Regions from separate parts of the Homo sapiens genome. Here regions 1, 3 and 4 are each linked to region 2. Evidence: promoter capture Hi-C in 16 types of primary human blood cells and fetal thymus (Javierre and others, 2016). All regions are on one chromosome and are shown on one strand. Each heading gives the region's core, a stretch centred on a gene start or on the middle of the fragment in contact. The rest is flanking DNA. Distances are from core to core; before and after follow the strand shown.

Evidence for each region. The method cuts DNA at HindIII sites, captures the fragments that hold promoters and counts their contacts. A CHiCAGO score of 5 or more calls a contact.
Region 1: a fragment that was not itself captured here is called in contact with the fragment with the promoter of ARL6IP5 in region 2 in 1 of 17 cell types (activated CD4 T cells); the score reaches 5.4 in activated CD4 T cells.
Region 3: a contact is called between the fragment with the promoter of RYBP here and the fragment with the promoter of ARL6IP5 in region 2, in 1 of 17 cell types (neutrophils). The highest score is 5.6, in neutrophils.
Region 4: a fragment that was not itself captured here is called in contact with the fragment with the promoter of ARL6IP5 in region 2 in 1 of 17 cell types (total CD8 T cells); the score reaches 7.9 in total CD8 T cells.

What each region holds. Positions count from the first base shown.
Region 1 is chr3:73,040,023-73,042,722 of GRCh38, reverse strand. The region is part of intron 2 of PPP4R2 (protein phosphatase 4 regulatory subunit 2); the gene reads right to left. Among named protein-coding and RNA genes, the nearest start is that of EBLN2, 20 kb to the left of the region's middle. The HindIII fragment of the contact is 5,162 bases long and covers 1-2,700 here.
Region 2 is chr3:69,083,344-69,086,186 of GRCh38, reverse strand. It overlaps ARL6IP5 (ARF like GTPase 6 interacting protein 5), which reads right to left and starts at 1,250. Exons shown (of 3, transcript NM_006407.4): 1 at 964-1,250. The coding sequence starts at 1,139. RefSeq lists an enhancer at 1,170-1,479. The HindIII fragment of the contact is 15,418 bases long and covers 1-2,096 here.
Region 3 is chr3:72,445,329-72,448,028 of GRCh38, reverse strand. RYBP (RING1 and YY1 binding protein) reads left to right here and starts at 1,406. Exons shown (of 4, transcript NM_012234.7): 1 at 1,406-1,533. The coding sequence starts at 1,406. RefSeq lists silencers at 560-969, 1,030-1,089. The HindIII fragment of the contact is 10,688 bases long and covers 1-2,700 here.
Region 4 is chr3:72,849,946-72,852,645 of GRCh38, reverse strand. No RefSeq gene overlaps it. Among named protein-coding and RNA genes, the nearest start is that of SHQ1, 2.9 kb to the right of the region's middle. The HindIII fragment of the contact is 192 bases long and covers 1,279-1,470 here.

The DNA.
Region 1 (2,700 bases), core at 17-2,516, 4.0 Mb before region 2:
GACAACTATTTGATAAAAACAAAAACAGAAAATGCTTCCCTAAAAGTTATATAATTCAGGGGCCAGGCGCGGTGGCTCACGGATGTAATCCCAGCACTTTGGGAGGCCGAGGCGGGCTTATCACAAGGTCAAGAGACCAAGACCATCCTGGCCAACATGGTGAAATCCTGTCTCTACTAAAAATACAAAAATTAGCTGGGTGTGGTGGCACAAACCTGTATTCCCAGCTACTCGGGAGGCTGAGACAGGAGAATTGTTTGAACCCAGGAGGCGGAGGTTGCAGTGAGCCAAGATTGCAGCACCGCACTCCAGCCTGGGTGACACAGCGAGACTCCATCTCAAAAAAAAAAAAAAAAAAAAAGAAATTATATTCAGGCACAAAAAACAGGCCATGCGCAAATCAACTAAAAACTTGGCAACAAAAACAATTTCTTAGGAATGTACACTCACTGGATGAGTAGAAATGAGAACAAAAAAACCCTTGGCTTTCAATATGAAAATCAAATTATTCTAAAAAGATGCTCATAAGACATAAACACATTTTCAACTTCAGAACAAATTTCTCCACATAAAATCCCCTCCAATAAAATACATACTCAAAATTTAAATCTACTTTACTGAAATTAACTCAATAATGTACTGAAATTAATCACCATTAACTAAGTAGCTTCACCTCCCTTCACTTCCTTTTTCTTCTCCCCTTCCATTTTCCCATTTTTGCAGTTTCTCCTGTAGGAAAGTACAATTCATATCTCTAATAAATATATCCTGGTGCTAGATTTTACATTGACCTTTTTTCTCCATAGGAACTCACAAGTTCATATTCAAACATGTTTCTCTCACAATTCTCTAAAGGCTAAAGGTATTTTCCAGAGGCTTAAGGACAGAAAATCCATCTTTTCTTTTCCCAAGTGGTGCTACAACAATTTAGTGGCCAGCGGCCAACCACCTTAACGTACTGGTTCCTAACATTTCCAGTTCTACTAAGATTACTCTCTACTCAGCCTATCTGCATTGCACACAAAGTGTGAGGAACACTAAGAGCACAACAAAGCTCAGGAGAGTCCTACTACTATTAGCTACTCCAAAGGATAGCAAATACTGCACCATTTATAAACATCAAACGGGAATCTGAGAAGAATGAATAAATAAAATCTAATGGAGATGATCATTCATTAAAGGTGACAGGCTTAAAATACACTTAATGTTTAAAAGGCAGATATTTCAATCAGATGACTTAAAATGTCAAATAATTCAGTCTTAATTATATGACTGAGGCAAACAAAACAAGTATATTTAATCTGAATACTGAATTAAATAAGTGAAAGATCTGCAAAAGTAAGAAAACACTGAGTTGCTTACATAAAATTATGACATTTTTAAAAGGACTAATTTTAAAACACAAATTACTCTCTCTATAAATGGGGCACGAAACAAGAGATTCTTTTACATTATCATTCCACATCATATTACATCTTGTCGACTAACTGAACATTAAAATAGATCAGTGGAACAGAAGAGAGCGGAGAAGCACACCCACACATATATGAAAATCTGATATATGGTAAAGGACAGATTAGTCAGTAAACTGAAAAATATTGAGACTACTCCAAAATGTTAATAGGATTTAAAAACTAAATAATGTGTTTTTTCTGATTACATTAATAGTACAGCCATTATAAGAAATAATAAAGACATAGAAGTATGTATCCATAATCTGCAGTCAACCATCATCACTAAAGTAACATTTTAATATATTTTTCAAATTTGACATCCTAATATTCCTTTTTCCCTCCTCCTTACTCACTACGGGTATTTGCATGGGACAAACAGTCTTTGAGGGCAAGATTTTTAACTGCACCACGTATTTGTGCCATAATTTATTAATCACAGTTTAAAAAAATATTTAGGGCTGGGTGCGATGGCTCACGCCTGTAATGCAAGCACTTTCGGGGGCTGAGGCAGGCAGATCACCTGAGATCAGCAGTTCAAGACCAGCCCGGCCAACATGGTAAAATCCCACCTCTACTAAAAATACAAAAATTAGCCAGGCATGGTGGTGAGCGCCTATAATTCCAGCTACTGGAATTACAGACAGGCTGAGACAGAAGAATCGCTTGAACCCAGGAGGCAGAGGTTGCAGTGCGCCAAGGTTATGCCACTGCACTGCACTCCAGCCTGAGTGACAGAGCAAGACTGTCTCCAAAAAAAAAAAAAAAAAAATTAGGTCACATCTACTTCATTACAATTAAAAATAATTATGTAGTTATGTGATTAACAGCCTAATAATAAACCCTGTAGGCATCTATTTATCACCTGAGGATAGATTTCTGTAAGTGAAATTATTGAGTCCGAAGTATGAAGTACATACGTCAAGACTTTTGTTTCAACCTTCAGAAACTCCCCAGACACCATGTACCATACTTTGTAGTGTCATCAGTAATATAAAGCAACATGTTACATTTGAGTATGATAACCTTTCAAAAATTCTGTCAATATGCTAGTAGAGAAACAGTTTAATTTACATTTCCTTCATTGCTAGTGAAATGGAATATTTTTACCTGATTTTGACCACAAGACACTTGTTTTATGTGTTAACAGGTCCTTTGCAATCCCTCATCCCAGGGCTTCTTCAATTTTGGCACTACTGACATTTTCTTTTTTCTTTTGGAGACAGAGTTTCACTCTTGTCGCCCAGGC
Region 2 (2,843 bases), core at 1-2,500:
TTTCTCCCAAGCCAGCTTGCTGCTTCTTCCCTCTACGTCTGCCCTGAAATAGAAATGTCAGACATTTAAGTGCAAGTGAGTCCTTTATAAAGTCTGAGGGTGGCTTTTTCTTTAAAGATGTGTAGGAGATAATCAGCAAGATTGAGAATATCACCACCCATCCTGCATAAGCGAGAGAAGCATTTCTTAAAGGGTGAACTAGAAGGAAAGGTGGTTTCTAGGAAAGCAGGTGTACATGCAGTCTCAACACAGGATACTTTGTTAAGTATCAGGTATTGAAAAGGCCTTCTGATACATTGAAACCTCAGGCTAGGAAGCGAAGACAGAGAAAGTGACCACGCCTGGCCACTGCTGGAAGAAAATGCCAGAAGGCCATCTTCCCACAGTCATGGCAGCCTTTACCCCACAATGGGAGATGCGCCACCAGGAGACACCCCCCCTTTTGATCCCAAGCTCAGCTTTACTGTACAGTGTGGCAGGCATTAGGCAGAGAAAGCAGCAAAGTGCGTCGCCACTTGGTTGCCCTTTTTACACTAGCCCGGGTCCACACCCTGCCGCCCCAGCCAGCTCCAGGGTAGGGTTACACCACTTTCCTTTTTCTTCTTATTTTTAAAAGACGAGGGCGCTACAAATATCTTTCCAGCAAGAGCCCGATCCTGGCACGCGGGCGGGGGCAGGGGGGTGGGGGAACTCTCATTTTTCTTCCCTGCGGCTGGCAAATTTTCCCCGTCCTCTTTCCCCTAGGGCCCCCCTCAAGTCTCAGCCCTTGGTGCAGAAAATGGGGCCCCAGGTTACTGCGGCCTCGCCCTGCAAACAAGTTTCCACTGGCTTGGCCGCTTGCAGAATTGCCAGGGCAGGCGCTGAGCGTGGTCAGAGAGCGTCTCTACATCCCGGGATCTTGCACCCCGAGGCCCCTCCGTGCTCGCCCCGGATCGGTGTCCCGGGTAGGGGGACCCCACTTACCCCACAATGGAAATCATCATGGCAGCCACCACCAGGTAGTTGGTCTGGTAATAGAGCAGGTTGCTCACTACGCGGTTGTTCCATTTGGAAATGTCCCTGAAGTCCGGCCGGGCAAAGCGATCGGAACCCGGGAAGAAATCGTCCCAGGCGCGGAGTGGGGCGATATTAACGTCCATGTTCTCAGCTTTGCGTTCTTCGCCTCCAGAATCTGGCGGCGGCGGCGGCGGCAACCGATCAGCTGAGCTGAGTTGGAGAGTTGACAGCGGCTCCGTCTCGGTCGGCTTTGCGGTTGGCAGACAGCAGAGCAAAGGAAATTGGGAGTGGGCGGGCGTGTTTGCTCCTCTTTACTTCTTCATTGGCTCTTGGTTGGGTACAGGAAAACAGGAACCTCCAGACAGAACAAGGGACTGAGTGCAGAATAGAGACGAAATGACAGAAAGCAACTAGCGGAAATCCCCTGTCTGAAGGGAGGTGGCAATGCCTTCTCTAGCAGCAGAGAAGCTGCCTCCTTCGAAATACCTTTTTTGAAGGTTTACCTAGGAGTGTGTTCTCTGACTTAGAGAAAAATTTTGGCAGCTGTGCAGATGCCAATCTAAGTGAAATGAAATGGAAGGCGACTACAGTGTTAATGGAGAATGAGCTGCTTTTGAAAACTAAGTCTTACTAACCTCTACACATCTGAATGCAATTCCCATGTTTTCTCTGTTTCACCATGAGTCACTATGTGTGAAATCAGATTGGCAAAACGGGAAAGAAGGTCATGTAGAACAGAAGGGCTGGTCTGTTTTTTTCACTTCTCTTCTTTGTTCTCCACCTCTGTTCTCTCTAGGCTAAATTGTTGGACTGCTATGCCATTCTGATAAAGTAGGCACTCTGGCCACTTCAGTCCTGAGCTGGGCATGTTGCTTACATTTTAAAGCAAACAGTTGTCTGCAGTGAACTAGTTGTTCTGCATCCAGCATTTTCTGGGCAGAAATATGCATTCCACTTCAAAAGTTTTCTTAGTTTTATTGCAATATTTGGTGACAGCTTTCACTGAGGGACCACAATATATTCATAGATAACGTGATGTTTTGTATCCCAGCCCAAAGACCTGGCAAAAGAAGTATTCGTTGTCAATTCTCTTCTAAGCTTCCAAGGGTCATCTTTTTTCAGTTAAGGGGCTGATTGGTACAATGCATGAGAAAAAAAGTAGTTTGTTTAATTGTATAATGTAATAGGTAGAATTCTAAGGTGAAGATTTCTAAGATAACAGAGTCTCTAAGCCCCTAAGTGGCTTAGACAAGGTGAATTCACTCTACTCAGATCACCAATTTTTGAAAACTTGGAAAGTAATGAAATATACTAATGCAAAGTCTAGAAAACATAATTTAATTTTCCTTATTAATTCAGAAGACAGTTAAGGAGCTTACAGCGACTCTAAGAAATTACTACTACTACTGTTGTTTAGGAAAATTTGGTGATTGCATGGAATTAGTGCTAAGATATATCTTATGTGCTGCTTTTTGAATAAAGTTTAAAATGTGAAAATATTCCTGAGTGCTCATGTTTTCTTGATTCTGGAAAAATGGGATGGTGTGAAGTCAGAGAAAGCAAAATTAGAGTCGCAGCTCCTTCCTCTCTGGCAGGTGACTTTGGAGAAACTACTTAATCTCTCCCAGCCTCGGTGTCTTCATGTGTAAAGTGGGGATAATGGAACATCTGCCATATAGACGAGGCTAAGTGAAGGAATGTATAGGAAATGCTTAGTGTATAATAAAGGTTCACAGTTATATGTTACTATTATTGTTATTAGCAATAGGATAGCCCACGATTCTTGTTTGCTATTAATAGTGCTTTAATCTGATTTGTTTTCTATGCTTTCATTATAAACATCTACT
Region 3 (2,700 bases), core at 157-2,656, 3.4 Mb before region 2:
CAGTTATAATAGCTCCTAATACCCAATATCTTGTTTTGGTCCTTCGTGAATACCAGGCATCCATCAGCGAACCTTCCATGCCTGATTTCTCCGAATATTCAAAACAACCCTGGGAGGATGAGCCCCATTTTGGAGATGAAGGAGCTGAGGCACGAGGTTTTAATGCGGGCATGTGGTCGCCAGAATTTGAATAGCAACTTCCCTAAGGAAACGCCCTATTTAGACTCTAGGGGAGAGGAGGATCCCAGGAGGAGTCCGCCAGCAGAAGCTCAGAGTCTGGCCTGGGGGCATTTAGTTATGCCACGCCCTTTCTCTACTGTTCCCTCCCGCGACAGGGGCCTGACAGGGAGTGGGGCTTCGGGCCAGCGTCTCGGCCGGACGCAGGGACTTCAGAAGAGGCAAATACAAAGCTCCGCATGGCAGAGGAACAGAGGGGCGCGGGGGAACGCGGTCCAAAGGTGGACCTTGTCGGCCCCTGGGCACTGCAAGCCTCGAGGCGCTGCGAGCGGTGAGGCTGTTGCAAGCTCCCGCGGCGCGCGCAAACTGCGTGGAACTACTTCCCCGGGGCGGCTTCGGGGCCGGGGTCCCGGCAACAGCCTCACGGGGCGCCGTGCGGGGCCCGAAGCCAGTTGCCAGCTCCCGGGCGCGGCCACGTGCGCCCCGCCGGGCTTGCACGCTCCGCCGCGCCGGGCCGCGGGGCCACCGACAGGCACGCGCGCCCCCAGCGCGCACACACTCCCGGGCACGCACACCGACCGCCCGGCCCACGTCCGCCACGCCCCGCCTTCCCCCGCGCCCCGCCTCCGCCCTCGCGGCGCCGGCCGCCGCCCTCCCATTGGCCGCACGGCGCGTGACGCGCGGCGCCAGGCCCCGCCCCTCGTCAGTCACTCGGCGGAGGCGGCGCTGGCGGGGACTAGTCTCGTCCGGAGACTGTGATGGATTTAACCAGGTGGGGAGGGAGGGAGGGCGCGAGCTTGGGAGTGGAGAGGGAAGGAGCCGGCCCACTCCCCGTCGCCGGCCTCGGGCTGCCCCTGCGCGCCCCCTCCAGATCCGGCCCGCGGCTCCCCTCCCGGCCCCCCCAGCCCCACGCTCAAGTCCACAAGTCCGCCCGCTTCCTGCGCCCGCCGCGGCCCTTCCCGGGGCGCCGCCGCCACCGCCTGGTGTGCGAGGCTATCCGGCCCGGGCCCGGGGCTTGCAGGGTGCCAGTGGGGGCGCCCGGTTCCCTTCCTCGCTCTCTCTTCCAGTCCCCGGAAAGGGTGGGTGGGTGGTCTCCCGAGCGAAGTTTCCAGCACTGGATTCCTGCGAAATTACGACGGCTCACCCGCGTCTGTGTTTTGCTGTCTCTCCCCCGTTTTCCTGCTCCCTGCCTCTTCCCTCCCTTTTCCCCCACTCTCCACTCCTCGGAAGGCCAAAAAGACAAGCGAAACCTGCCGCAGACGAAGGGTTTTGGGATTGTAGCGTCTGCACCTTCAGAAACAGTGCTGAAGCCTTTAAATGCAGCATCTGCGATGTGAGGAAAGGCACCTCCACCAGGTACTTGAAGATCTGTGTTACCTTTTGTTAAAGGACTTTTTTTTTTTTTTTTTAAGTGAGAGGGTAGTGAGCCTTACTTTCTGCCCTTTTTCCAACTTGTTGATTACGGCTTTTTTTGTATTTGCGGGTGGGTTGTGTGTGTTTTTGGGTTGAGTGTATTAAGTGTTGGGTGAAAAGCCTTGTGTTCGCTAAATGATTTATGGGAGGGAATTTTTCCAGGTTTTCATTTTATTTCAAACGGACACTGGATTTATTTGACACTTGTGTCTATTGGCTTATTGGTATTGGCTGGGGAAGAGAGGAAGCAGTACTATCGCTATGGATTGTAGGACATAGATGTTTTATATTTTTGCCATGTGTAGAATGGTTTTAATTTGCCTGTCCCGAGTTACTTTTCTCTTGTCTGAGAAATTTAGTGGGGGTAGTAAGGCTGGCTGTGCTTTTCCTGTCTTGAGCTGCAAATGTCTGTTACTTTCTTGCACTTGAAAATAAATGTCGGTATTTGATAAAGTAAGTGCATTTTGTGGGAGACTGAGCTGTCAGTTTTTTTTTTCTTTGACTAGCTTATGTGGGGTGGTGATGGGGGACGATTTTGTAAAATGGTGAAATGAGCAGTGACTGTGGAAGTTTGTGTTTAAAGCTCTGTGATGATGAAAAGAATGTTGAAAGAATTCCTTTTCATTTTGATGAAGGTCGTAAACTGCATGTGATGTTAAAACGAGTTAACTACTTTAGATTTAACATTCATAAATACTTGGATAAAATGTCAAGACTCATGTAGTCTTTTGGTCATCTTTTAATTTATGTCTGAATTTGTTTCATTGGCGTTAGAGTTTGAAGTTAAACTGTTCTTGGTGTCATTTAATGAACAGGCATTGGGTGTGTGTGTGAGACAAGAATGAGTTTTTGGTGGATCCTTTAGAACATTACAGTTGATTGCCAAAAGTCTCATTTTATCAGGTACTTATTTTTGAATTGGTGACATTTCAGTGTGACTGTGTAGTAGTACTTCACAGTTCCAACTGGATATTGTTCTTTGATTAGATGAATATGTCATGTTAAGGTTTCATTGGTTTATTTATACTTGGGATTAAATAGGATTATTGGGCAACCTAAAATAATCTAACTCTGAGATTAATTGGCCTAATTATTGTTTCTGTGAATTGC
Region 4 (2,700 bases), core at 125-2,624, 3.8 Mb before region 2:
GGTATTTTTACTCTAGTTTCATGATCCTAGTATTAGTTTTTTTTTTCCTTTCTTAAAATGAATCATCACTGTGTTCAATTCTGTTTTTAAGAGTTCTAACACTAGGCCAGGAGTGGTGGCTCACTCTTATAATTCCAGTGCTTTGGGAGGCTGAAGTGGGAAGAGTGCTTGAGGCCAGGAGTTTGAGACCAGCCTTCACAACATAGCAAGACCCCGTCTCTACTAAAAAAAAAAAAAAAGTTAGCTGCGTGTGGTGAAACATACCTGTAGTCCTAGCTATTTGGGAGGCTGAGGTGGGAGGATTGCTTGAGCCTAGGAGGTTGAGGCTGCAGTGAGCTATGATCCTGCCACTGCACTCCAACCTGGGAAACAGCACAAGACCCTGTCTCTGAAAAAAAAAACAACAAAAAAACAAAGAGTACAATTGTGGATAAACTTATTCTTGACAAAAATGTAGTCAAATGGAAATATTGTAATGCCACATATGTATTTTATATATTATATATATATATATATATATATATATATATATATATATAGAGAGAGAGAGAGAGAGAGAGAGAGAGAGAGAGAGAGAGAGAGAGAGAGATATGGAGTCTTGCTCTGTCACCCAGGCTGGAGTGCAATGGTGCAATCTCAGCTCACTGCAACCTCCACCTCCCAGGTTCAAAGGATTCTTTTGCCTCACAGCCTTCCGAGTAGCTGGGATTACAGGTGGTGCCACCACACCTGGCTAATTTTTTTGTATTTTTAGTAGAAACAAAGTTTTCCCATGTTGGCCACAGCAGTCTCAAATTCTTGACCTCAAGTGATCCACCCGCCTAGGCCTCCCAAAGTGCTGGGATTACAGGCATGGGCGACCGTGCCCAGCCTGTAATCCTATATTAAGTGAAGAAAGCAAATATAGATTATGACATTCTTTTGTTGAAAATACTTCCCATACTTTTATGAATAGGAGTCTGAAAAGATGTATGCCAAAATAATAACAGTGGTTAAGACGTAGTTTGCAAATACTGTGTAAGATTCCACCACCTCCCCAAAATGGCTCAGAGAATGAACTAGCGCTATAAACAACTTATTCAGGAAGCTATTTTTCAACATAGGTTAAAGCTCCATTCTTTGAGATAACATTGTTTTAATCACCTATATGCATGCCACCTTCTGGAAACAAGGAGTATTTCACCATTAAAAGACTTCTAACAATAGAACTTGGTAATAAAGCTGACATTGGAATTGTTTATAAAAACCATTTTTAATTTAACATTTAATTTGGAAGCTTATGGATCACAATCAGGGTTGTTAGACCAGAGGAGGGGCCAATTTAATATAATGAAAGATGATAGGTTACACACTTGTCCTACATAAGTTGGTCATGGAAAAAACTTTATCTTATTATTTTATTTCATGTTCTCTATAGGCCAGAAGGAAAAACTATTTTTAAAACAGTGGAAGGCCATTCAAAAGTAAGCTTTCAGAAAATGAAAAGATAAAAAACACTGCAACATTTGAATGCTCAAAAATGATGAAAAATTGCATTCCTGTTTTCCCCTCTAAACCAGAGCTAATTTAAAACATTAAAATAATGTCTTTATTCTCAAGCAATGTCTGTATTCAGAAATAGAAACTCAATTTGATCTATGAATCAATATAGCTATGTCTCAAAAATGAACCAAAGTAGGAAAAAAAGCATGTTGCAGAATTACTTTCATAGTGTGAGAATGTGCCCATATAAAGTGGGTCTAAACACAAAGCAACAGGGTCCATAGAAATGGATGTAGAAATAGAAAAGGGTCTGAAGTGATAGCTAGGACTGCCTTTGAGGAAGCAGGAGAAAGAACCAAAGTTGCATGGCAGCCAAAAGGAACTTTATGTTCTTAAGTGAGAATGAATCTATAACTTATATTTACCACTAATAGAAATGCAAAAATAAGAGAACTATTGCCTGCAAGAAAACAAAAACCAACAGAAACCCAAAACAACAAAACCTTGTTATATACTTGAAACTATCCGTATTTTGTGATTTAGCAGATGCAGTATATATTTCTTATAATGACGGCAGCACTGAACCATGTTGTCTGTTTTCCTGTGTTGCAGTCCTGTGTGTGTGTGTGTTGCCAGACACATAATAAAGTACCCAGGAAATGCACAGCTCTAGTTTGCAAAGTGCTTTCAATTAGAATTTCCTCATGGATAGCATAGCTTGTTTCAGTTGATTCTCTGGCATTAATAATTTAAAAATATTAATGCTTGTGACCTACAGGAATGAGGTCCCATGGCAGATGTAAAGATTATTTCTTTTTTTTTTTTTTGAGATGGAGTTTCACTCTTGTCACCCAGGCTGGAGTGAAATGGCACAATCTCGGCTTACTGCAACTTCCGCCTCCTGGGTTCAAGGGATTCTCCTGCCTCAGCCTCCTGAGTAGCTGGGATTATAGGCACACACCACCATGCCTGGCTAATTTTTGTATTTTTAGTAGAGACGGAGTTTCACCATCTTGGCCAGGCTAGTCTCGAACTCCTGACCTCAGGTGATCCACCCCCTCGGCCTCCCAAAGTGGTGGGATTACAGGTGTGAGCCACCGCTCCCGGCCAAGATTCTTTGTAAAGAAGCTAATTTGGAATAGTTTAGTCACAGGCCTATCTCAAGGGACCTTTTGAGAGCTTTATTAAATCAAAGTTGGCATCAATTCATTGTCAATA